Linked DNA regions of Homo sapiens: regions 2, 3, 4 and 5 are each linked to region 1. The links are contacts of gene promoters, found by promoter capture Hi-C in human tissues and cell types (Jung and others, 2019). All regions are on one chromosome and are shown on one strand. The core of a region is centred on a gene start or on the middle of the fragment in contact, and the rest is flanking DNA. Distances in the headings are between cores, read along the strand shown.

What was found. Contacts are between HindIII fragments. The study calls those that stand out against the background at their distance.
Region 2: a contact is called between a fragment that was not itself captured here and the fragment with the promoter of CLDN5 in region 1, in 2 of the 25 tissues and cell types used here (dorsolateral prefrontal cortex and mesendoderm cells).
Region 3: a contact is called between a fragment that was not itself captured here and the fragment with the promoter of CLDN5 in region 1, in 4 of the 25 tissues and cell types used here (dorsolateral prefrontal cortex, lymphoblastoid cells, spleen and 1 more).
Region 4: a fragment that was not itself captured here is called in contact with the fragment with the promoter of CLDN5 in region 1 in 4 of the 25 tissues and cell types used here (H1 embryonic stem cells, IMR-90 fibroblasts, dorsolateral prefrontal cortex and 1 more).
Region 5: a fragment that was not itself captured here is called in contact with the fragment with the promoter of CLDN5 in region 1 in 2 of the 25 tissues and cell types used here (dorsolateral prefrontal cortex and spleen).

The regions. Positions count from the first base shown.
Region 1 is chr22:19,521,142-19,526,758 of GRCh38, forward strand. It overlaps CLDN5 (claudin 5), which reads right to left and starts at 3,269. Exons shown (of 1, transcript NM_001363066.2): 1 at 1,886-3,269. The coding sequence starts at 3,114. The coding sequence ends at 2,458. RefSeq lists an enhancer at 952-1,884. The HindIII fragment of the contact is 10,668 bases long and covers 3,039-5,617 here.
Region 2 is chr22:19,759,844-19,763,142 of GRCh38, forward strand. TBX1 (T-box transcription factor 1) reads left to right here and starts at 935. Exons shown (of 7, transcript NM_001379200.1): 1 at 935-1,437. The coding sequence starts at 1,001. RefSeq lists enhancers at 1,990-2,689, 2,849-3,299. The HindIII fragment of the contact is 5,066 bases long and covers 1-3,299 here.
Region 3 is chr22:19,317,070-19,322,686 of GRCh38, forward strand. All of the region lies in intron 1 of LOC105372859 (a long non-coding RNA gene), which reads left to right. Among named protein-coding and RNA genes, the nearest start is that of CLTCL1, 28 kb to the left of the region's middle. The HindIII fragment of the contact is 4,176 bases long and covers 545-4,720 here.
Region 4 is chr22:19,692,502-19,698,118 of GRCh38, forward strand. No RefSeq gene overlaps it. Among named protein-coding and RNA genes, the nearest start is that of SEPTIN5, 19 kb to the right of the region's middle. RefSeq lists an enhancer at 1-27. The HindIII fragment of the contact is 5,757 bases long and covers 1-5,332 here.
Region 5 is chr22:19,356,671-19,362,287 of GRCh38, forward strand. HIRA (histone cell cycle regulator) reads right to left here. Exons shown (of 25, transcript NM_003325.4): 16 at 5,057-5,261; 17 at 4,567-4,671; 18 at 2,666-2,814; 19 at 220-381. Among named protein-coding and RNA genes, the nearest start is that of CLTCL1, 68 kb to the left of the region's middle. The HindIII fragment of the contact is 5,675 bases long and covers 454-5,617 here.

The sequences.
Region 1 (5,617 bases), core at 2,019-4,518:
ACCTCTGGTGGTTTGCACAGCTTCCCGGGACCCTTGAGCTGCCTACCCTGGCCATTTGGGAAAATTCAAAGGCTGTGCAGCTTCCTTTCCATGCCCTTTCTTTCCTTTTTTTGAGACAGAGTCTCGCTCTGTCACCAGACTAGAGTGCAGTTGGTGCGATCTCGGCACACTGCAACCTCTGCCTCCCGAGTTCAAGTGGTTCTCCTGTCTCAGCCTCCCGAGTAGCTGGGATTACAGGCACACACCACCACGCCCAGCTAATTTTTGTATTTTTAGTACAGACGGGTGTCACCACGTTGGCCAGAATGGTCTTGATGTCCTGACCCTGTGATCCGCCCACGTCGGCCTTCCAAAGTGCTGGGATTACAGGCGTGAGCCACCGTGCCCAGCCCCGTGCCTGTCCTTTCTTAGGAAAAGGCTTTCTTAGGAATGCCCTCCCAGGCAGCCTTGGGCCTCAGCTTCTGACCAAACACACCAGACCTGGTACTACCCAGTCCCGGTGGCCAGGTGCAAGAGTGTAAGGACCATTGTTTTTGGCTCTGCCCAGGGCCACAGCTCTGGGATCACACACTCCCAAGCTTGGGGACTATTCTTGGTCCCTGTTGTACAGGCCCAGGTGGGGTACAGGTCAGGCCTGCTGAGGACCTCTGCACCGTGGGGCCCCTCTCCCTGTAACTCATCCCACCGGCTGGTTCCACAGCAGCTCCCAGGAAGCTGCCACACATTCCAGCAGCTGCCCTAAGCCACTCTGAGCCTGCATTCTTGGGGTTCTCCCACTGCTCCATGATGGTAGCCTGGCCAGACCTAGGAGACTCCCTGCCACTGGATGTGGCCCAGACATTTCTGGGCAGGGCCCCCAAGTCCAGTTTGGGGCAGATACCAAGTCTCCCTTCCGGCTGGGCTTAGAGCTCTTCCCTGCAGCATGCCCCCTTCATCAGCTGCTCTCTTCTGCTTCTAGCTTTATGTCAAATGTCAAAAATGTGTTAATTCAAAGTGCCTAGAACAAGGCTAAAAACAGTGAGCTCTCAGTGGCTATGTTAGATGGCTCTAGACACCCCCATTCCGAGGTGCCTGGCAGGGGCCAGCACTGACTCCCAGGCCACACAGCCCCTGGAGGAGGAAGGTTACCCAGAGTGCCCCCAGCAGGGGCTGGCACAGGTGCTGGTTGTGAGCACCATTCTGGGCAGGCTGCCAGGCCAGCAGGGTGGGTACAGGCTCTGTAGGGAGCTGCGCTGGGACTGGCAGAGGAGCCAGGACGAGGGGCTAGAGCCAAGCTGTGGTACTCCAGGCAACCAGCTGCCAGCACCTCCTCCCATGGCAACCCTACTGTTGACCGGCGTGTCCTGCATTCACCCCTGTTCCTGCCCCACCCACCATTGGAAAGGGCCTGGTCGGGGATTCTACAGACCTCTGTGGCCACTTGATGGGGCTTGGGACTAGGCAAGCCCTGAGAGGGCAGTGGAAAACCTCACCCTGTGCTGTGTGGGGCTTGGCCCTTTCTGGGAGAAGCCAGCGGCCTGGCTGCTCACCCCCAGCACTTCCCACACCGCAGGACCCCCACTCACCAGCCTGTGTTGAGGGCGCTTCACCCCGCATCTTCTGCTGGGGTCTGCCGCTGCCCCCGCCCCTGTCCCATCCCGGGCCCCAGGGCCCCATGACGCAGCAGCTCTTCTGACCGCAGATCCCGCCTTTCTGGGCTGTAGTAAGTGGTGGCTGTGTCTCCCACCTGGTGGGAAGGTGGCAGGGAGGATGGGGAAAAGAGCCCCAGCCTCCAGCCCTGGGAGGAGGTCTCCACAGGAGTCCTTGGGAGGGCGGGGCTGGTGGGTGATGAATGGGGCTGCTGGACACGGAAGATGGCTGGACAGAGAACAGGACACAGGTGGGAGAGAGTTCAAACCATTTACTAAGCAGATTCTTAGCCTTCCCACTCCCGCCCTCTCTCAAGCTCCGGTGCCCACAAGCCTTGCCTGGGGAGATGCTGGAGTGAGACCGGGAGGTCCAGGCCAAGTCACTGGTCCCTGGGCTCGGGCCCTGCCGATGGAGTAAAGACCAGCTGTACACATCTTCCGGTGGGGGCCCTGGGCTCTGCATCCGCCCCTCCGAAGTCAGCAGGAGCCTCTGGGAAGTAAGGCAGCAGCCAAGACCCCCAGCGTCTTGGAGGGGAAGCGAAATCCTCAGTCTGACACCCGCTCTGCCTATGGAAACAGCGCCGCGCACAGAAAAGGAAACTTCATTCCGTCTGTTAAGGGCAGGGCCGGGCTAGTGGCAGGAGAAGGTCAGCTGCGGGCGCAGGCAGGAGCGGATCCAGGAGCCGCGTCGGGGCGCAGAGCCGGACGTTCCGAGGAGCCTGCGCGCCGCGCTACCCGGCGGAAGCCGCGGTCCATGCGGGGCTCCCCAGGCTTATCCAACGCCTCGCAGGCGTGGCTGGCAGGAGGGGCCCGGCCGTGCCCAGCGCCCTCAGACGTAGTTCTTCTTGTCGTAGTCGCCGGTGGCCGTGGGCCGCCGCGGCGCTGAGTACTTCACGGGGAAGCTGAGGTCGGGACGGCCGGTGCAGACCCAGGCGCCGCAGCACAAGAGGCAGCCGCCTACCATGAGCAGCGCGGTGGCCGCCCAGCCGATGTACAGCGCTGCGCCCAGCTCGTACTTCTGCGACACGGGCACAGACGGGTCGTAAAACTCGCGGACGACAATGTTGGCGAACCAGCAGAGTGGCACGAGCGCCAGCAGCCCGCAAAACAGGTAGAGCACGCCTCCCGTGAGGGCCACACGCGCCTTGGCCGGGCCCGGGGCCACGCAGGTGGTGCACTGCGCGCCCGCCAGGGTCACGAAGAGCGCAACGAACGCCAGCAGCACGGCGCTCACGGTGAGCGCCCGCGCCGCCTGCACCTCGGTGCTCAGAGCCAGCACCGAGTCGTACACTTTGCACTGCATGTGCCCGGTGCTCTGCACCACGCACGACATCCACAGCCCCTTCCAGGTGGTCTGCGCCGTCACGATGTTGTGGTCCAGGAAGGCGGTCACCTGCCACATGGGCAGCCCGCACGCCAGGATCAGACCCCCCCAGCCCACCAGGCACAGCACCAGGCCCAGGATCTCCAACGCTGCGGACCCCATGGCTAGAGGCGAGACGCGCACCCGAAGGCCCGCAGAACCCCCAAGGCCGTGCTGCGCGGCGCCCTGGGCGGGCCCTGGTGCCTTTGCGCCCGCGCTCCCGGCTCTTGGCCCCAGTCCGTTTGCCCCGCGGGTCTGTCGCACCTCCTGGGTCTGCCAGCTCCTGCCGGGGGGTACCCTCTTTGAAGGTTCGGGGGCGGATTCTGTCCCCCGGGCCCGGCCCCCCGGCCCGAAGCAGCCAATCCGTGCGCGGGTCATCGTGCCGCAGCCAATCACAGAGCCTCTGGCAGCTGAAGTTAGGGAAACAACGGCTCTTGAGGGGTAGCTGAGGGCGCGGGACCGCTCCCCGCCCGGCAGCCGCCCCCAGCCCCACCCGCCGTTGTCCTAGTCGCGGCCGAGCGCATTCTGGGCTGGCCTAGGGCGCGCTTCTTGGGCCGCCTCCCTGCGCGTCCCGGCCCCGTCACTTCAGAAGGCGCTCGACCCCCAGTCTGCACCACCCAGTCCACTCCCACATCCCCGACTGAGCCGGGTGGTCTCTTCCACTCGAGCCAGCTCCACTTCCCTGACCAAGGTTTGCAGAAGCCCCCCACCCCGTCACCGCCGTAGAGGCCCTCGTAGGGGGGCTCTCCAGAAAGCCCGCCCCGGGGTCCAAGCCCCACCCAGGCCCTTTCTCGCACTCTCACTCTCCAGCCCCGCTCTGAGTCCCAGCACTGTCTCTCTCATCCCATGGCAAACAGAGAGGCCAGGCAGGCGTGTGGAGGTCAGGCCCAGGGCCCCAGCCTCACCCCCCATGCCACTCACTGCCTCTCTGGAGCCTGAGTCTCTGGCAAAAAGCGGTGGCACAGGGGCTTTCCCCCTGCCTGGCGACCCCCACTCTCCCAAGCCGCAGGGGCTTCCCAGACCTCTCAATCTTCACAGGGGCTGCTCCTCTTCCTGCGGTACTGCCCGCACCCCATCCTTGGGGGCCCAGTTCAGGTGACACCACTTCAGGAAGTTCCCAGTGACCCAGCACACTGGGTGTAGCACCCAGGGGCAGTGGTGGCCCCAGGCCTAGCAGCCTGCTCTGGCCTTCAGACAGGAGAGACAAAGGGACACGGAGGGGCTGTGCCCTGCCCTCCCACCAGTGGCGATGGTGTCCCTGGCACCCCAGCCCCCAGGCCACCCTCCGGAAGCCAACTTGGAGTTTCCTGGCCAGGAGGAAGAGCCCCCATCCTTGCTGGAGGAGGGAGGCGCGGGATTTCCGGGCATTCTTCTGCACAATGGCCCAGCCATTTCTCGAAAGGTCCACTGGTGTGGACACTCCGGGCCCCCTGAGGCTCAGGTGGGGGCACGCGGCTCCAAAACCCACAGCCCCATGGGGGCACCAGCCCCTTTCTAGTAGTTCTTTCCCCAGTCTCTCTCGGCCCCTTTGTTTCCAGTAAAGTTTGAACTCCAGGCCCTGGACTGAGGCCACTGGGTGCCCAGTTCTTTTATCTGGTCTGTGCTCAGTTCCATTGGACAGGGCCCTCCATAGAAAAAGTATGGCACTGAGGCTGGTCACAGATGTGGGAGGTTTGATGACTTTCTCCCTCCTGGGGCCCGGTTCCCTTCTCCCCCTTCAGATGGCTCTGAGATGGTAAATGAGATAAGGCCAGCGTCTGGCTCACCTAGTGTGGGGAGGTTCTGAAGGCAAGTGTGCCCAGCCCTGAGGCTGGAAGGAAATCATACCCTCTTTGCTCAGCCCCACGTGGCCTCTCCCCACCAGGTATGGCTCTGAGGACCACTGCCTTCTCCCAGCTATCACTTTAGTCACTGCCTTCCTCCTGCTGCAGACCCATGGGCCATGCCCCTTCCTCTACAGACCCTCCTGGACATCTCCTCCTCTGTGTACTCCAGGGGTACAGCTGACCCACCCACCCTCTCACTCTTACTACCCCCTAACCCAAGCCCAGGGAACTTCCCCAGATCCCCCTACTCCCAGCCCTTCCATGCCACCATCTTCCTGGGATGACTGCTGCGGCCTCCTCAGGTCATCAGGGACCTGCCCTTGCCCAGCTAGGCCACCCACCCCACCAGGCCCCTCTCCTGGGCCTCACCCTACCTAAGACCCTCCATGGCTCACATTGCCCATGGACGAAGAGCCGACTCCCAGAGCAGCTGGATTGATGTGTACCTGCATGCGCTAGGACTGGCCAGTCCAGCCACCAGTCTTGGTGCGGCCCTGAGCACACACTCTGCCCCAGGAGACTTACCTGCCTATGGGCCTCACATGGGCCGTCTCTTACCTTGGCCTCTTCTGCCCGCAGCGTGTATCTGTCAGGTTGGGTCCTGCTCATCTTCTAAGATGTGTTGCCGAGGTCATTTCCAGGAACACCTTGCTGCACCGTCCCCCAGCATTGCTTTTAGAAGCTTGAGCTGGACCTGTCCTTTTGCTTGCCGACTTTCCCACCTAGTATCCAGGAATAACCTCCACAGGGTGGCTGTCTTCATGCGTCTGTCCTGCACAGGAGGCTGCCTGTTGCCCTCT
Region 2 (3,299 bases), core at 9-2,508, 240 kb after region 1:
CCTGTCCCCTCACCAGCCTGGGGGCCCAGCTTGGAGATGGGCACTCAGGTATACACAGGCCCGGAAGAGGGCGAGTGAGGCTGGGAAGGAGAGCAGAGGTGGCCGTGAGCCTGGAGAGGGGGGAGGAAAGTTAATAAGAGAGGAGAGAGCGGGAGAGTTTCACAGAAGGAGAGAAAGCCTCGAGGAAGCCGTGGAGACGAAATTGAGCAAAGGGGAGAAAACACAAAAAACCCAAAGAAGAAGGTAGGGGAGAAACAGAAGGACACGAAAAGGCAATAAAAAGCAAGAGCGAAAGAGAAGAGAGAAAACGAAGGGAAAATTTAAGACAGAAAGCGAAGTCATAAAAAAGAAAAAAAGGAAAGACTTTAGTTTTTTTTTTTTTAAAAAGAAAAACATAAAAAACAAAGGACATACAAAAATAAGAGGAAAGGCACCGACTAAAAGAAAGACAAAGAATGATTAAAAATAAAGTGAAAAGGAAGGCGAGGATGGAGGAAAAGGGGAAGAGGCGGAAAGTAAAACAGAAATAAAGAGAAACTACAGAGATAGGGGAAGAAAAAAGATGATCGGGAGGGAAAATTTAAATGAGGACGACAAAGGTAAAATAACAAATTAGGAAAAGAACGTCTGGGAGAGAGAGAGGAGAAACGCACGCGGGCGGGCGGCAGAGCGAGGGCCGGCCGACGGGCCCGGCGCACCGGTGAGCCGGTCCGGGCGGTCGGGGGGCCCCGGGCCGAGCGAGCCGCGGCGGGCGGGCTGGGGGCCGGGGAGGGGGAAGGGGCGGGGGAGGGGCGAGGGCCGGGGGAGGGATCTAGTCCATTGTCTCCGCGCGGGGGTGGGGGGGCCCCGGGCGGGGCGGGGCGGGGCGCCTCCTCGGGGCCGGCCTGCGGTGTGGGGCTGCACGGCCCGGGGCGCACGCAGCGCGGCGCCCGCCACTCGGCCCGCGGCGCGGGGCAGCGCTCAGCTTGGTGGCGGGGGCGGCGGCGGCGGCCCGCGGGTCATGATCTCCGCCGTGTCCAGCCCGTGGCTCACGCAGCTCTCGCATTTCTGCGACGTTGCAGCCTTCACGGCCAGCAGCCTGAGCAGCCTGGGGGCCGCGGGGGGCTTCCCGGGCGCCGCGTCGCCCGGCGCCGACCCGTACGGCCCGCGCGAGCCCCCGCCGCCGCCGCCGCGCTACGACCCGTGCGCCGCCGCCGCCCCCGGCGCCCCGGGCCCGCCGCCGCCGCCGCACGCCTACCCGTTTGCGCCGGCCGCCGGGGCCGCCACCAGCGCCGCCGCCGAGCCCGAGGGCCCCGGGGCCAGCTGCGCGGCCGCAGCCAAGGCGCCGGTGAAGAAGAACGCGAAGGTGGCCGGTGTGAGCGTGCAGCTAGAGATGAAGGCGCTGTGGGACGAGTTCAACCAGCTGGGCACCGAGATGATCGTCACCAAGGCCGGCAGGTCAGGGCGCCCCTCCCCACGCCGCGACCCTCCCCACGTGCTGCCGCCAGGGCTGCGGGCCTCCGCCTGATCCGCGCGAGCGGGGCCGAAAGCCGGGTCGGGGGCGCGGCCTGGCCACCTGCGGGCCCCTCTGGGCCCCGCTGCCTCCTTCGCTGTTCGCCGTCCCGGCTCCGGCGACAGCCGCCCGGCGCTCCCCTCCTAACACCTATCCTCCGCCGGGGCGGGAGGAGACGGCGCGGGCCGCACGGGAACGGCGAGGAGCCCCGCGGGACTCGCCCGCCCGCCCCGCAGCCCCAGGACGCCGCGCGGCCCAGAAACCGGCCCGGCTTGGGGCGCACCCGGCTGGGGGCAGGCAGCGGCGTCCAGGGGGCCTCACCGCCCGGCCGACTCCTAGTAAATCCCACCTCAAGAAAACTCTGGTTCAGTTCTGGAGTTCAGTCTATGCGGGCAAGATAAAGAGCGGCAGCCGGGCAACTCTCTGGACACTTTCAGGAGAGGATTACCCTTAAAAACAGCGTGCACTGTTGCGTGGAAGTTGCTACCCAGTTTCCTTCAACCTAGATCCCTATAGTTGTGGGGCCTGGCTCTGTATCCAGCGGCCCGTCACCTCCCAACCGGCCTGTATTTGTTTTAAAGACCAAGAGACAAGGGGAACAAGTTTTGCAGATGCACCCGATTTGACCGGTAGACAAAGGCGGGTGCCGCGCTGTGTCTAATGTACACACCAGCTCGGAGTCCGAACAGCCAAGGGGAGCTCAGGGCCTGTTTGCAAAGCCTTCTCGTGGTTTCTGTTTCCCTGCTGCCGGCGTCCTTTCTGAGGAACCTGGGCCTGTGCTCTGCTCCAGCTCTGTGGTTTTTTTCCAGGCCCTCCTTGCTGTCCCCAGGCACACAGGCCCTCCTGAGGACAGCGGCAGCCCAGCCGCTGGCTCAGGCCAGCCCGGCAAGGGCCTTGTCGGCGCTGGGCTTCACCCGGGAGCCCACGTCCCGCAGCACCCTCCAGCCTGCAGAGGCTTCGGGTGGGGGAGGGAGCGGGCCTGTCCTAGAGGCTGGCTCCTGGCATCTGTCTTCTGCCCACCGCCTGCAGGGAGTTGCTTGTGAGGGGAGGCAGAGGGGACGGCAAGTGAGGGCCAATCCTTGTGTTGTCCTGAAGGGCCCCACGGCCACTACTGCTGTGCCATCATGTGGGGGTAGCCCATGGCCTACACCCGTCCAGGCACTGCAGAATGTCCTTTCAAGAGCCCTGACTGGTCACTGAGCCAGGGTCCAAAGCGGGGGAGATTTGAGGAACAGGAAAGACACAAACTGAGTACACTCTGGGTAGCTGCGTCTTGGGGTTATGTGTCTTAAGGGGAGTGGAAGCTTGCCCTGTGCCCTGAGGAAGGTGGGGAGACTCTTATCATGGGGCCATGATAGAGAGGGGCCCTGAGAGTCAGGGGAGGGAGGGCTCTGAGCCTTGGCCTCACTGAGGGGATTGGGTAACAGCCGAAGACCCAGCTAAAAGGGCAGCGGGGACGCCTTGAACTCACACAGGACTACCCGGTTTCACTTTGTTGGAGCCGGGAGCTGCTTCGATCAAGCTGGGGAGGCTCTGCTAAGGGCGCACGTTAGGCACCCTGCTGCCGGCCGAAGCTGGGACCAAGAGGCCAAAAAGTCAGCAAGGGCGAGGCCGAGTTTATGTAGGCCAAGGTTGCCGAAGGTGGGGGCTCCAGCGCTGGGCTGGCCATTTCTGTGTCCAGGAACGGCCCAGGAGGCTCCCCTGCTGCGCCAAGCTCCCAGTTGAGTAGGGGCCTGCCCAGATTAGAGCAGCTAAGCCAGGAAAGATGGAGCCCAAGGGCTGGGACGACACAGCAGCCCCCAGAGGC
Region 3 (5,617 bases), core at 1,383-3,882, 200 kb before region 1:
GGCGGGTGGATCATTTGAGGTCAGGAGTTCGAGACCATCCTGGCCAACACGGTGAAACCCCGTCTCTACTAAAAATACAAAAATTAGCCAGGTGTGGTGGTATGCATCTGTAATCCCAGCTATTCAGGAGGCTGAGGCAGGAGAATTGCTTGAGCCTGGGAGGTGGAGGTTGCGATAAGCAGAGATCATGCCACTGCACTCCAGTCTGGGTGACAGAGTGAGACCCTGTCTCAAAAAAAAAAAACAAAAAACAACAAATTGTCACTTAGTTGGAATCATACAGTATGTAGCCTTTTCAAATTGGCTTCTTTCACTTAGCAATATCCATCTAAGGTCTTCCATGTCTTTTCATGGCTTGGTAGCTCATTTCTTTTCTTTTCTTTTTTATTTTTCTTTGAGATGGAGTCTCGGTCTGTCGCCCAGGCTGGAGTGTAGTGGCACGATCTCAGCTCACTGCAACCTCAACCTCCTGGGTTCAGGCAATTCTCTTACCTCAGCCTCGCAAGTAGCTGGGATTACAGGCACGCACCACCACACCCAGCTGATTTTTGTATTTTTAGTAGAGAAGGGGTTTCACCATGTTGGCCAGGCTGGTCTTGAATTCCTGACCTCAGGTGATCTGCCTGTCTTGACCTCCCACAGTGCTGGGATTACAGGCATGAGCCACCGTGCCCGGCCTGAGCCACTGCCCCCAGCCGGCTCATTTCTTATCATTGAATAATATTCCAATGTATGAATGTGTCAGTTTGTTCATTCACCAATTGAGGGGATATCTTGATTTCTTCCAGTTTTTGCAGTTTTGAATAAAGCTGCTATAAACATTCATGTGTAGGTTTTTATGTGTATATAAGTTTTCAACTAATTTTGGTATATACCTAGGAGTGAAATTGCTGGGCCATATGGTTAGGCTATGTTTAGCTTGGAAGGCACTACTAGATCATCTTCCAAAGTGGCTGTATTCTCAAGAGCAATGAATGAGAATTCCTGTTTTTCTATGTCCACATCCTTGTCAGCATTTGATACTGTCAGGTTTTTGGATTTTAGCCTATCTAATAGGTGTATAGTGGTTTCTCATTGTTGTTTTTGTTATTTATTTATTTATGTATTTATTTTAGAGATGGGTTCTTACTCTCTTGCCCAGGCTGGAGTACAGTGGTATGATCATGGCTCACTGCAGCCTCAAACTGCTGGGTTCAAGAGGTCCTCCTGTTTCTGCCTCCTAAGTAGCTGGACTACAGGCATATGCCACCATGCCCAGCTAATTCTCATTGTGTTCTGAATTTGTAATTCCCTAATGACATATGATGTAGAGCGTCTTTTCATATGGTTATAGCCATATGTATATCTTCTTTGGTGAGCTCCGTTCAGATATTTTGTCCATTTTTAAACTGGAATGCTTATTTTCTTATTTTTGCATTTTGGGAGTTATTCGTATATATTGGATACAAATCCTTTATCAGAAAAGTTATTTGCAAATATTTTCTCCAAGTCTGTGGGTTTTCATTCTCTTAGCAATGATGTTCTCAGAGCAGCAGTTAAAAATTTCTGTCTAGATTCTTTTTTTTATGTTTGCATGTGTAAAATGCAAAACTTCCTGAGTAGAAGGGACTACAGGTGCATTTATTAGAGCAGTATTTATTGAAAAGACTAATATTTTTCTATTGAATTGCCTTTGTTCCTTCATCAAAGATCAGTTGATTTCATTTGTTTGGGTTTATTTATGGGTTCTCTACTCCGTTCCTTTACCAATGTCACACTGTCTTGATTACTGTAGCTTCATAGTAAGTCTCAAAGTTGAGTAGTGTGAGTACTCTGGCCCTGCTTGTCTTCAATATTGAGTGGGCTATTCTGCATCTTTTGACTTTCCATACAAACTTTAGAATTTGCTTGTCAATATCTGCAAAATAACTTGCTGGAATCGTTATTGGAATTAAATTGAATCTATAATTGGTAAGCGCTAACACATTAATGTTGAGTCTTCCTACCCATGAACATGGAACTTATCTCCATTTATTAATTTAGATTTTTTATTTATTTCATCAGAGTTTTGTAGTTTCCCTCATATAAAGCTTGTATGTATTTTGTTAGATTTATACCTAAGTATTTTGATTATTTGGTGTTTATGTAAGAGGTATTAAATTTTCAATTTCAAATTCCAATTGTTCAGTGTTGGTTAAAGAAAAGCAATCAACTTTTGTATGTTAACCTTATATCCTGCAATGTAACTATAATAACTTACTAGTTCTCAGAGTTTTTTGTTGATTCTTTGGGATTTTGTACATAGATAGTCATGTTATCTGCAATTTTTTATACTTTATTTCCTTCTTCCTAATTTTTATACTTTTATTTCCTTCTTTTGTCTTATTGTATTAGCTAAGACTTCTAGTACAATATTGAATAGGAGTGGTGACAAGAGACATCCTTGCCTTTTCCCTGATATTAGGGGAAAAGCATATAATTTTTCACCATTAAGTAGTGTATGATGTTAGCCATACATACATACATAGTGGAATTATTGTAGATGTTCTTCATCAATTGAGAAAGTTCCCTTCTATTCCTAGTTTGCTGAGAGTTTTTATCATGAATAGGTGTTAGATTTGTCAAATGCTTCTTCTAAATGTATTGATATAATCATGATTTTCTTTTTTAACTTAATTGATGTGATTGATTACAATAACTTATATTCAACCATTAAACAAGTATGCATATCTGGAATACATCCCATTTGGTCATGTTGTATTTTTTTCATACAATGTTGGATTTGATTTGCTAATATTTTTATCATGGATAAAAGGGGCATTACTATCGGGTAAAATTCAGCCCCCGATATTTCACCTGGGTCCTTTTCTATTTTCCCTAAGTGTTGGCTGGTCTGAGAAATAAAGGGAAAGAGTACAAAAGAGAAATTTTAAAGCTGGGTGTCTGGGGGAGACATCACATGTCGGCAGGTTCTGTGATGCCCCCCAAGCCGCAAAACCAGCAAGTTTTTATTAGTGATTTTCAAAGGGGAGGGAGTGTATGAATAGGGTGTGGGTCACAGAGATCACGTGCTTCACAAGGTAATAAAATATCACAAGGCAAATGGAGGCAGGGTGAGATCACAGGACCAATGCGAAATTAAAATTGCTAATGAAGTTTTGGGCATGCATTGTCATTGATAACATTTATCAGGAGACAGGGTTTGAGAAAAGACAACTGGTCTGACCAAAATTTATTAGGCGGGAATTTCCTCATCCTAATAAGCCTGGGAGCGCTACGGGAGACCGGGGCTTATTTCATCCCTTATCTATGCCCATAAAAGACAGACGTCCCCAAAGCGGCCATTTCAGAGGCCTCCCCTTAGGGATACATTCTCTTTCTCAGGGATGCTCCTTGCTGGGAAAAAGAATTCAGTGATATTTCTCCTATTTGCTTTTGAAAGAAGAGAAATATGGCTCAGTTCCACCCGGCCCACAGGCAGCCAGACTTTAAGCTTATCTCCCTTGTTCCCTGAACATTGCTGTTATCCTGTTCTTTTTTCAAGGTGCCCAGATTTCACATTGTTTAAACAATTTGTGCAGAAAACGCAATCATCACAGGGTCCTGAGGCGACATTCATCCTCAGCTTACAAAGATGATGGGATTAAGAGATTAAAGTAAAGACAGGCATAGGAAATCACAAGGGTATTGACTGGGGAAGTGATAAGTGTCCATGAAATCTTCATAATTTATGTTCAGAGACTGCAGTAAAGACAGGTGTAAGAAATTACAAAAGTATTAATTTGGGGAACCAATAAATGTCCATGAAATCTTCACAATTTATGTTCTTCTGCCATGGCTTTAGCCGGTCCCTCCGTTCAGGGTCCCTGACTTCCCGCAACACATTACATCACAGTGGAAAGTGAGATAGTAAAGGAATATTATGAAGTACTCTATGCTCAAAGGGGGCATGATCCCTATGACAAAGGGATCCATTCTTCGAGAAGACATAACAGGCTGGGCATGGTGGCTCATACCTGTAATCCCAACATTTGGGGAGGCCAAGGCAGGAGGATCATTTCAGCTCAGGGGTTCGAGACCAGCCTAGGCAGTGTAGTGAGATCCCATCTACAAAAAAAAATTTAAATTGGCCTGGCATGGTTGTGCCTGCCTGTAGTCCCAGTACTTACGAGGCTGAGCTGGGAGGATCACTTGAGCTTGGAGGGTAAGGCTGCAGTGAGCTGTGGTCACACCACTGCACTCCAGCCTGGGTGACAGAGTAAGACTGTCTCAAAAAAAGGGGAAAAGACATGAAAATTACTATATTTCACTGAAGATTTATGAATTGCAAATAAGCACATGAAAAGATGTTGAACATCATTAGGTATTACGGAAATGCAAACTAAAGTTACACCTGTCAACATGGCTAAAATTAATAGTGACAACAAATGCTGGTGAGCATGTGGAAAAACTTGATCACTCATCCATTGTTGGAATGTAAAATGGTACAGCTTTGTGGAAAATACTTTGTCATCTTGAAAAAAACTGCACTTGCAGCTACCATAAGACCCAGTAGTTGCCCTCTTGGGAATTGCTTCCACAAAATCAAATGCTTATGTTCACACAAAAAATTTAATATCAGGGCTTAACTGTAATCACCAAAAATTGAAACTAGCCCTGATGTCCTGAGCAGATGAATGGTTAAATCAACAGTGCAGCAAAACCATGAAATACTCATTAGCAATAAATAAAAACTAATGAAGTAATAATATACACAACAACTTAAATTAACTCCAGATAATTATTCTGAGTGAAAAAAAAATCCAGTAGGTTAGGTAAGCATGACATTGACATAACATTGTTGAAATCAGGAAATTACAGAAATGGAAAACAGATTGGTGGTTAGCATGGGTTAAGAAAGTGGAATGGTGAAAGGGAAGTGGTGTGGCCATACGTGAGCAACACAACCCCACTTAGGTAGAATACACATCTTCTCAAGTAGACAAGGAACATTCTCCAGGGTACAGCATATGCTAGGTTGTAAATCAAACCTTAGTAAATGTAAAGGATAGAAATAATACAAAGTATTTTTAAAAACACAACGGAATACTATTAGATCAATAACAGAAAGAAAGTCGAGAAGTTGGGAAACCCACAAAGGTGTGGAAATTTAACAGCACACTCTAAATGACCAATGGGTCAAAGAAGAAATCAAGAGGGAAATTAGAAAATACTTTGTGGGCCGGGTGCAGTGGCTCACGTCTGTAATCCCAGCACTTTGGGAGGCCGAGGCGGGTGGATCACGAGGTCAGGAGATCGAGACCATCCTGGCTAACACGGTGAAACTCCATCTCTACTAAAAATACAAAAAATTAGCCGGGCATGGTGGCGGGCACCTGTAGTACCAGCTACTCAGGAGGCTGAGGCAGGAGAATGGCGTGAACCCAGGAGGCAGAGCTTGCAGTGAGCCAAGATTGCACCACTGCACTCCAGCCTGGGTGACAGAGTGAGACTCCATCTCAAAAGAAATTTTATAAAAAAACTTTTTAATTAAAAATTAAAGAAATACTATTATATATAGAGAATGAGGGTTTAAAAAAAAAAGAAGAAATACTATAAACAATTGTAGCTTAGATGAAATGAACAAGGCCGGGTGTGG
Region 4 (5,617 bases), core at 1,204-3,703, 170 kb after region 1:
CCATTTGAGTCTTTTTTTTTTTTTTGAGATGGAGTCTTGCTCTATCTCCCAGGCTGGAGTGCAGTGGTGTGATCTCGGCTCACTGCAACCTCCACAGCCTGATCCTGGGTTCAAGGGATTCTCCTGCCTCAGCCTCCCGAGTAGTTGGGATTACAGGCGCCTGCCACCATGCCTGGATAATTTTTTTTTCTTTTGAGACGGAGTCTTGCTCTGTCACCCAGGCTGGAGTGCAGTGGTGCAATCTCAGCTCACTGCAAGCTCCGCCTCCCAGGTTCACGCCATTCTCCTGCCTCAGCCTCCCGAATAGCTGCGACTACAGGTGCCCGCCACCACACCGGCTAATTTTTTGTATTTTTAGTAGAGACAGGGTTTCACCGTGTTAGCCAGGATGGTCTCGATCTCCTGACCTCGTGATCAGCCTGCCTCGGCCTCCCAAAGTGCTGGGATTAAAGGCATGAGCCACTGTGCCCGGCCTAATTTTTGTATTTCTGTAGAGACAGGATTTCACCATGTTGGCTAGGCTGGTCTCAAACTCTTGACCTCAGGTGATCTGCCCTCCTCGCCCTCCCAAAGTGTTGGGATTACAGGTGTGAGCCACAGCACCCAGACCATTTTTAAGTGCACAGTTCAGTGGTATTACATACATTCACAGTGTTGTATAATCGTCACCACCATCCATCTTCAGAACTTTATGCATCTTGCAAAACTAAAACCTGCCCCCATTAAACAGCAGCCCCCCTCATCCCCTGCCCCCAACCCCTGGCAACCCCTATTCTACTGTCCGTGCCTATGAACCTCACTACTCTATGCACCTCACATACGTGGAACCACATGGTATCTGCCCTTTCGTCGCTGGCGTCTCTTAGCATAACGTCCTCAAGGTTCATCGGTGTTGGGGCACGTGTCGGGATTTTATGGTGTGTGAATGACGTCTCAGTTTAAAATGTTCTAGAGTTACCCAGTGGTGATGGATACACAACTCTGAATATGCCAACAACTTCTGACTGGTACACTTTGAGTGGGTGATTGTATGGTCTTTGAATTGTGTCAATAAAGCTGTCATTTAAAATAAAATACCAATCCGTGCTGGCACAGAGAAGGACTGGGAGACTCCGGGCAGTGCGCAGGCCCCTGTGTCTAGGAGAGTGAGGGGCCTGCTGACCTCGTCCCGGGCAGGCGTCCCAAGAGTCTAAGTTCCAGGCCTTAGGTCTCCTTACGTGGGTCTTGTGCGCATGGCTCAGGTGGAGTGGCGACCTGAACAGTCGGCACTGCTACGTGAGGACGAGTGTGGCCCCAGATGGAAGGCCTGAGCGGAGGCAGCAGGGATGAGGGTGGCATGGGTGTTGTTATGCACTGATTTATGTTCTCCCTTCCAAAACTCCACACCAAAGCCCTCACCCCCAGGACCTCCGAATGTGTATTTGGAGGTAGGGTCCTTAAGGAGGTAGTTAAGTTAAAATAAATTCATGAGGGGGTAGGTCCTGATCCCATATGACTGGTGTCCTTCTAAGAAGAAATTGGGACACAGACATGTACAGAGGGACAACTCCGGGAGGACTCAGGGAGAAGGTGCCACCCGCAAGGCAAGGAGAGAGGCCTCAATCGGAACCAGCCCTGCCCACACCTTGATCTTGGACTCCCAGCCTCCGAGACAAGACAATAAATGCCTGTGGTTAAGCCACCGGTCTGCAGTGCCTCAGGACACAGACACAGGTGGTGATGAAGCCAGGCGAGAACATTTTGAATGCATCTAGGGATAGAATCGGCAGGACTTGCTGATGGATCCAATGCAGGACAAGTAGGTGACCCTGAGGATTTTATTTGAGCAAATGGTGCAGTCACCAGTCAGACGGGGGACCCCCGGGCAAGCACAGTGCAGTTTCTTTGCAGGTGCATCCATGAAGGGTGTGATGCCTACCAGACATTCAGGAGCTGCAGCCAGGTGGGCAGCCCACAGGGGAGTCTGGGCTTCTGGGAGGAAGATGCAGAGCCGTCCTGGACAGGGCAGCAGCAGCACCAGCCTTCACTGGAGCCGGGGCCTGCAGCCTCCATTGGTGGCACACCCAGGTGAGGTCTTCACACTGCCTACACTAAAGCAAATGAACAACAAAAATCATGAGAGACCCTTGGATCAGTTTTGCACGGGAGAAGTCATTTCTTTCTTTTCTTTTTTTTTTTTTCAAGATGGGGTCTCACTCTGACACCCAGGCTGGAGTGCCGTGGCGCGATCTCAGCTCACTGCAACTTCTGCCTCCCAGGCTCAAGTGATGCTCCCACCTCAGCCTCCTGAAGCTGGAACCACAGGCATGCGCCACCACACCTAGCTGTTTGTTTGTTTGTTTTGGTAGAGACGGGGTTTCGCCGTGTTGCCCAGGCTGGTCTCAAACTCCTGAGCACAAGCGATCTGGGATTACGAGTCACTGCGCAGGGTGGGGAGAAGTCATTTCTATGCGCCTCGGGGAAGCAGTGTGGACAAGGCCCGCAGGGCCCTGCTCTTGGGCTGATTCCCTTGAGGGAGAGCCTAATGTGTAAGTGAAAAATGAAATGTGCAGGAGAGCCACTGGTCAAGCAGCAGTGCTGGGGCAGCAGGCCCTGTCGGGGATGCCAGCAGGCTCAGAGCACAGCCAGGAGGAGCCGGCCTCCAGACAAAAGCACATTTGCTAAAATAACTTTGAGAAATTTTTTAATGTTTTTCAAATTTTTACCGAAATTTAGAAAAATTTCCTCTAAACTTTGCTTAAACCGTGCTAAAAAGTGGGGACAAGCCTGAACAAAGGCCTGACACCAGCAAAGGTCAGCGAGCAGTGCAGAAGAGGCGGGAAATATTGCCAGGAGGTGGCCAGGCAAGGAGAGGCGAGGGAGGTCCCCAGAGCGTCTCCCCACCCCCGATTGGACCCAAGGCACTGGGTAGTTTGCCGAGGGCAGTGCAGCCACCTTGGGCCAGGGTCCCAGCCGCTTGCCCTCTGTCAGGAGTTGCTTTCTTTTTTTTTTTTTTTTTTTTTTGAGACGGAGTCTCGCTCTGTCACCCAGGCTGTAGTGCAGTGGCTCCATCTCGGCTCACTGCAAGCTCCGCCTCCCGGGTTCACGCGATTCTCCTGCCTCAGCCTCCCGAGTAGCTGGGACTACAGTTGCCCGCCACCACGCCCGGCTGATTTTTTGTATTTTTAGTAGAGACGGGGTTTCACCGTGTTGGCCAGGATGGTCTCCATCGCCTGACCTCGTGATCCACCCGCCTCGGCCTCCCAAAGTGCTGGGATTACAGGCGTGAGCCACCGCGCCCGGCCAGGAGTTGCTTTCTTAGGTATCTCCTTGGATCATGAGTTTCAGCGAGGAGGGGTCGTCTGCACAGGAAACACGCCCCGGCCGTTGGAGACTCGCTGCTGCCCCCACGAGGCACTGCTCCTTTGGAGTGAGCTGGCCAAGCACAACACAGAGCCTGCTCCCCAAACTGGGCGGGACAGCGCCAGGCCTACAGTCACCACGGAATGTGCTCTCTCACTCAGCGCCTCTCCTGGAGCCTGAGATGGCTCCATTCAGCACTGCAATCCTCCCAGCGAACCCCAGCCAACCCAAACAGCCTTGTTTGTGCGGGGCTCTGTTTCCCAGTCAGGATACAGGGCAGCAGGGCGGGAAGGAGCCTCAGCAGCTCCCCAGCAGCACACACCACCGGCCTGGCTTCCCTGCTCTGTTCGGGAATCTCCTCCCCCACACCCCCCGCAGCCCCCAGCCCCCCAGGAACACTTCCCCAGTGGGCTCTAGCCTCACCTACACAGCCCCCACCAGACCCCTGCGCCCGTGTCTCAGAGGCTGTCACAGAGACAACCGATGGCCCTGCCCATCATCCAGCTGGTCACGCCGATGCCTCCCCCACCTCCCGCACCACATCTGGTGCCACACAGCTGTGACCAGGTGTGACTGTACACAGGGATGGCCCCCATCCCCTCTCCACTGTCAGTGCCCTGGCCCCAGGCCTCTGCTGTGCCTTTGGGGAGTCCTCCCACTGCCCACTCTGCTGTCCAGAGACAGACAAATATACATTATCCAGTCTGTGACAGAGAGATAAAAGATTCACTAAAATTGTTTAAAAGGATGAGATTCTGCAGATTGTATTTTTCAAAGATGGCCACAACACTTCCTTCTATCCCACATGCTCTTCCAGAACCCTGATACTATCTGTGAATCTCAGTGATCTCATTCCCTTATAAACCATAGAATGCCACAGAACTGATGCTACAGAGCTCCTGAGGCTGGGGCGCAAGAGATAATGCAGCATCTGCCTTGGGTGCCAGAGCACTATGCACAGAGACTTGGGGCCACCATGCTTTCAACGTTGCCAGGCTAGCCCACCTGCACAGAGGTAGTTGCCAGGCTAGCCCACCTGCACAGAGGTGGTTGCCAGGCTAGCCCACCTGCACAGAGGTGGTTGCCAGGCTAGCCCACCTGCACAGAGGTGGTTGCCAGGCTAGCCCACCTGCACAGAGGTGGTTGCCAGGCTAGTCCACCTGCACAGAGGTGGTTGCCAAGCTAGTCCACCTGCAGAGATAGTTGCCAGGCTAGTCTACCTGCAGAGATGATATAAGACTTCATGGAAAGAAACATGTCCAGCCAGTTGCTCCAGCTCCAGCCACTGTCTGCCTGGAATGGCATGAACTACCCAGCTAAGATATCCTGAATTCCTGACCCCCAGAAACCATGATAGATAGTAAGACTAAATTGCTATTTTAAGTCACTAAGTTTTGAGTTGTTATGCAGCAATAGATAATGTTATGCAGCATTTCATAACAGAATAAAGTGCACAGAGAGACCCACAACATGTAGCCAATTGATTTTCATCAAAGATGAAATTGGCAATTCAATGGGGAAAGTCAAATATTTTAAACAAATAGCACTCAAACTATTGGATAAATTGGGAGGATGAACTTTGACTTCTACCTAACACCGTACGCAAAAACTAATTCAAGGTGGGGCGCAGTGGCTCAAGCCTGTAATCCCAGCACTTTGGAAGGCCAAGGCAGGTGGATCACTTGAGGCCAGGAGTTCGAGACCGGCCTGGCCAACAGGGTGAAACCCCGTCTCTACTAAAATACAAAAAATTAGCCGGGGGTGGTGGCACATGCCTGTGATCCCAGCTACTCAGGAGGCTGAGGCATGAGAATCACTTGAACCTGGAAGGCAGAGGTGGCAGTGAGCAGAGATCGCACCACTGCACTCCAGCCTGGGTGACAAAGTGAGATCCTATCTCAAAAAAACAAAACAAAACAAAAACTAATTCAAGATAAAATTATAGTCCTAAACATAACAATAAAACTGCAAAGCTTCTAGAAGAAACAGAGGAGAATATATGTATAAGCTTGGAGTCAGTAGGCAAAGATTTCTTGGAAAGGACACAAAAAGCATGAAATATAAAATTTTTAAATTGATACATTGGATTATCAAAATTATAAACATCTGTTTCTCAAAAGATAACATTAAAATGAAAATAATTCTGGTGTGGTGACTCACTCCTGTAATCACAGCATTTTGGGAAGCCAAGGTGGGCAGATTGCTTGAGCCCAGGAGTTTGAGAGCAGCCTGGGCAACATAGCAAGACCCTGTCTCTACAAAAAATTTAAAAATT
Region 5 (5,617 bases), core at 2,041-4,540, 160 kb before region 1:
AGCAGGCAAGCTGCCTCCATCCCCCTTGCACACTACCCCTCAGCCCTCAGCCTACCCAGGGCACCCAACACAAGCAATATCACTAACTGCTCAGGGCCTCTTCTGGGGCCTGATGGCCAGCCTTGTCCACTGCCTTCCCTGCCCCTGCAGTGAGGTGGGGCCTACACAGCCCTGTCCTGCCCTGGCTGAAGCCCACCCCACCCTGTGCCTGCCTCTCACCAGACAGAGAGTGTGGCTGCAGCGGTGAGCGCCATGACGTAGGAGCCTGTGCAATGCAAAGTAGAGATCGGGGATGGCAGGAGGATGGGAGAGAGGAGACGGCGACCACAGGTGGAGAACACTGACAGCATCCTTTTTTCACAGGCGACACACACCACGTCACTGAGAAGGCAGAGTGGGGGCAGGTGTCATGGGGGCTGAGTGCTGCAGCCAAGACAGTAGCCCTGGAAGTGTGGGCCTTCCCTCTGCCTGGGCCCAACAAGGGCCTCCCCTGAGCAGGTACAGCCAGAAGGGAAGGTGGATTGGGTCAGGGTAGGGCTGGTGGGGCTGTTGGAGCCTCCCTGAGATCTTGGATGAAAGAGGCTTCTGTCCTATTTCCACAGGCTGCCTGCGCTTTCCTGAGCTCATGCTGATGCTGACCAAGGGGTGTGGGGGCTTTGGAGAGCCAATGCCTCTGATGATCACCCAGGAAACATGCCTTGCTCATCAGATAAGGCCACATAGTACCCACAGGACAGTCTCCTGGCTGCAACTAGTCAGACCAGTCCTGAGAAGGTCTCTAACAAGGCAGGCTAAGAGAAGTATGGGGATGACAGCATGCACCTCTGTGTCCAGGGGGCTGTCTGGCTGGCGTGGGAGATGTGTGTCGCTCCCAAACAAGGAGTGCGTTACAGAACAGTCTGGACACTGTCCAGCTTCTCCCGAGTGACCACCAGGCCCCTGGGTGGGCCCTGCACGAGCAGGCTGCTGCCTTCCCAGACAGAGCCCCCTAAGGCACAGCCACAGGCCCAGGGTGAGGCTGGAGCTCAGACGCAGGCAGGGGTAGCAGATGTACAGCCAGTACAGTGAGATCCTGGCCACAGTAGGCCACCCAGAGCCCTGCTTTGTGTCACTTCTATCCTGGTGAGCCAGTCACTCCAGCAGGCTCAAGGAGGTCAGTTAAGGAAGGAGCTCTGCCAACTGCCTTCCTAATGAGCCACTATTGCTACTGGCTCCAAAAAGGGAGAGGCAAGTGAGATGCTTTTGTTTACAAATGTTTACTTGGAGAGTATGAATCAGAGAACACTCTAAGCAGCACGGGCAACAAGGAGCTCTCTGCAGTGCTGTGACTGAATTCTTATTTTTTCTGAGACAGAGTCTCGGTCTGTCGCCCAGGCTGGAGTGTAGTGGCGTGATCTCGGCTCACTGCAACCTCCGCCTCCCCAGTTCAAGCGATTCTCCTACCTTAGCCTCCCGAGTAGCTGGGATTACAGGCACATGCTACCACGCCTGGCTAATTTTTGTATTTTTGGTAGAGATGGGGTTTCAATATGTTGGCCAGGCTGGTACTGTGACTGAATTCTATCTGCCCATCTCTGGTGGTCAGAGCCTGGCTCAAGCCAGCCCACTGCAAAGAAAGCCATCATTTTTGGGCTGTAACACTGGGGAACAGGTCTGCAGGCTGGGCCTGAACTGGGCAGGACTAAGCAGGAGGAGAGGTCCCACGTGGTCCAGCAGGCTTGCCCCACAGCTGCCATGTCACTGTGGGAGAGGCTGTGCCGACACCCCTTAGCCCTCAGCTGGGCAAGCCACCTGCCTTGAGGGGAGGGACAGAGAGTGGGAGCCTGTGGAAGCATCTGATACACAGGTGCCTGGGACTGGGAATTTAAATGGCTCATCTGGAGGGGGAATTTGAGGGAGGAACAGAACAAACAGTGGGGTCCCCTAGGCCTAAAAACACAAAACTCACTCAGGGCCCACGAGAATTGTGGTCTAAGACCTAAGGCCATGTGCTTTGACACAAGTAAAAGCATTTACATGGGACCTCATGGCAGATGATTAAGGGTGTAATTATGATGACTGTATCTGGTCCTGACTGGGATGCTACATCAGACAGGAACCTGAGGAGAAACATTGGTTCCCCTTCCACATTGAACACAGGTAGGGACAGGGCTCACGTACAGTTCTAGGAACCCAGGGGAAGATACTGGGTGACTAATCACTGAATCAAGGTCCCCCTCACAGTGCAGAATCTGGCATGGGCTGGGATGGGGACTTCAGGGACAGTCAGAAATCCATCCTGACCAACTTGGATGGAAATCTGGGATCCAAAAAAGGAACCAGCCCAGGTCAAGGTGAGCCAGGCACACCTCAGTGTGGAATTCGAGACTTTGGGGATCTGGCTGGACAAGGGAATCAGGCCATCAGGTTCAAAGCTTGGCCTGGGTAACCCTCAAGGGCTCAGTTTCCCCATCTGTAACACGGGGATACTGATGCTGACCTTGCTGGGTGCTGCAGGGACTGAGATGACAAGCACATATGCTTGGCCTGGAGTGAAGCCTGGTGTGAGTCTCTGTGGGAGCTGGTGCTCCCAGGGTCATGCACCTCCCCTAGACAGGCCCAGGCCCAGAATGATGGCATGTGTGCCTGTGTCACCTGGGCCGGCTAAGGACCTGCCCACCCTTACCAGCTGCCCGCAGCAGTGAGGATCCGGCTGGTGAGTACCGTCTCCCACTCCTTCCCTTCCCGGTTGCACTTCAGGCGGCTCAGCTTCACGCCCCCCACCACTGTCACTTCATTCTCCACCTCAATGTACATGGAAGGATCGGAGCTGACCTGGATGAAGTAAACACACGGGTCTGCTCAGACAAGGGCCGCAGCCCAGGTGACATGCTCCAAGGCTCTGTAGCCTGGGGCCCCAAGGCAGCAGCAGGATACAGAGGCAGACTGGCTGGCCAAGAGAGGAGAGGGAGGGCAGGTAGGGCAAAGGGGCTGAGCGGGAGGCCCAGAGGGCCAGACATGTGGCCCCCAAGGCAGGGAGAATGCTGGGAGCTGGTTTCTACCCTGTCATTTGTGTAGTTGAACAGCCAGAGAAGAGAAGCAGTGCCAGGGTTAAAGACCCCAAAGTCTCCCAACCCTGCCACTTCATCTCACAAGGGAGTAACGTGCCCAAAAGCACACTGCAAAGGACCGAGCTGGGAGTGAGACTTGGGTTTCTAGCCTCCTACTTGAAGAATCTTCAAAGATGGCAGTGTTTGGCAAGATTAGAGACCATGTCAGTGCTTGGAGGGAATGTTTAGAAAACCCCCAAAGGGGCTCTCCAGTTCCTGTGGTGGTGAGACTTGGTCTGCTCAACTGAGACTAAACTGGCAGGGGTGTTTATGGCACAGCATGTATGAAAAGCACCTAATTCAGTGTCTGGCACCAAATGGGCTCAGCCACACGCGTGTGTGGGGAGCTGACCAACAGATTTTCCCTGTGGTAAAATAGGCAGAACCACCAAACAGTCTGTGCTTGTGTGGCCACTCAAGTGGGTGAGCTGGGCCGAGGGCTGACTGCCCCCTTCACAGACCCAGAAATGACAGTCCCAAGCAGTGCTTGGAGGGCAAGATGCCTAGGGGAAGGGCTGGAGGAGTTTGGGAGAGTTCTGTGCTGAGAAGCAGGGCACCCAGGAGGGAACCTAAGTCAGAACACCTCTGAGTGCAAGAGCACGTCTGAACGCTGCTGACCACTGGAGGGCCCCTGCCTCCGTTCACACCAGCAATAAGAACAAACCCTATGGGTTCCTACCCTTTGGCTTCCCTGCTTCATTCCTCTGCACTGTGGCCCAGAAGGACCTATGGTAGGAAGGGCTGACGCCTGCTCTCTGGTGCCCTGTGAGGACCAACCTGGGCTCAGAGCAGTGTGTAGCCAGTGGGAAGTGACCCGCAAGCAGGGTCCAAGAAGGCTGCTCGAGGACACGCACCTGAGCTGAGGTACAAGGGTATGCAGAGAGGCAGCAGTGTGTGTGACGGCACCATGGCAGGAGAGGCCTAGATACTATGCTGGGCCAAGTGACCAGGAGGGCTCTGGGTATAAAGGATTATTTACTCCAGAATTGTGTTTTGGATAACCACATGCTTACAAGCTTCCATTCCAAGAGCTCAAACAACTCTGATGATTGACTGTGCCAGACACTGAGAAGACAAAGCTAGCAGGATGGTTGGGAGATAGATTATGACCACACATTCCCACAGACACCAAGCCTGAGGCTGCCCAGGGCTGTGTGTGGAGGTGGAGGTGGCTTCCAGCCAGGACACCTGAGAGGAGTCCTGAAGAGCACCAGAACATGTGGTGGTAATGGCAGCCCCAGCAGCTGGAATCCCAAGGGCAAAGCCAGACAGAGGCTATGGGTGAGTGAGAGTGGAGGCTGGCAATTTCGCTAAGAGTTGGTGGGTACCCCGATCTGCTATGACTTCTCCCAGAAGGTGATGGAGAGCCACTGGAAACCAATCTCCAAGGAAGTGACAAGATAGGATTTGTATGCAGTAGGGGACAGAGAATGTCTGGGTGTGCCTGAGGGAGAACTGGCAGGGTCCTAGAACTTACCTGGAGGGTGAATGCTCTCTGGGGGCTTGGAATTGGCAGCTTCAGTGCAAGTGCTGGTGCAGACAGACACATGGCCTCCTTCTCTGCGGTTAGGGCAGCTGGAGACTGGAAGAGCCAGAAACGTTCCTGAGCCTTGCTCTAACACTACGGGGTAGCATTTGGTAAAGGCAGGTCACCCAGAAGTGAGGCTGAGCCTGCGACCAGAGCATTTCCACCCTGGGAGGGAGGAAGCAGAGGGGAATGCTACAAGGATCCTAACCTCATGGACAAGCCAGTTGATGCCAGGGAACCTGCTCAAGGGCCCTGGGTGAGTCAAGGGCACATCTGAGGGAGAGCGTGGCCTCCATGCTACATTCCAGGGGCTGCATGTCTAAGCCAGCTGGTTCCCAAGGTGACCCACCCAGCTGAGGCTTACCATGCACACAGGGCCTTCAAGCTCTAAGTACAGAAAGGTGGGCTAAAGAAGGCAGGATGGGCCCACTGGCCTCACCTGGACAGACAGAGACACAGGCATGAGACGAGAGTCCTTCCGAGGCCGCCCTTTCTTCTTCTTCTCTACTGTCTCTACCTCAAGCTCAAGTTTTCGCTTGGACAGTGAGGAAGCCTTAGCCAAAGGGACTTTCTCATCGCTGTCACTGCTGCTCTCCAGGAGGTCTCGGGGCCTCAGCTCTTTCACAAGGTTCTGCTCTTTTAACCTGCACAAAAACATTACATCACACTTCCCTTCAGAAACCATTCATGCAAGAAAGAGTGAAGTGAAATATTTAAAGTGCTTAAACAAACCTCTTGCCAACCTAGAATTCTGTGTCCAGTGAAATTATGCCTCAAAAGTAAAGGAGAAATAATGACTTTGTCAGACAAAAATAAACAAAGAGACACCGGAATCTGTTGCCAGAAGACCTGCCTTGCAAGAAATGTTAAAAGTCTTTCAGAGAGAAGATAAATGATGCAGGCCAGAAACTCACATCTGCATGAAGAAAGGAAGAGTGATGTTAGAGAAAAAAAACAATGAACATAAAATAGAATCTTTTGTATTTCATATTCCCAACTG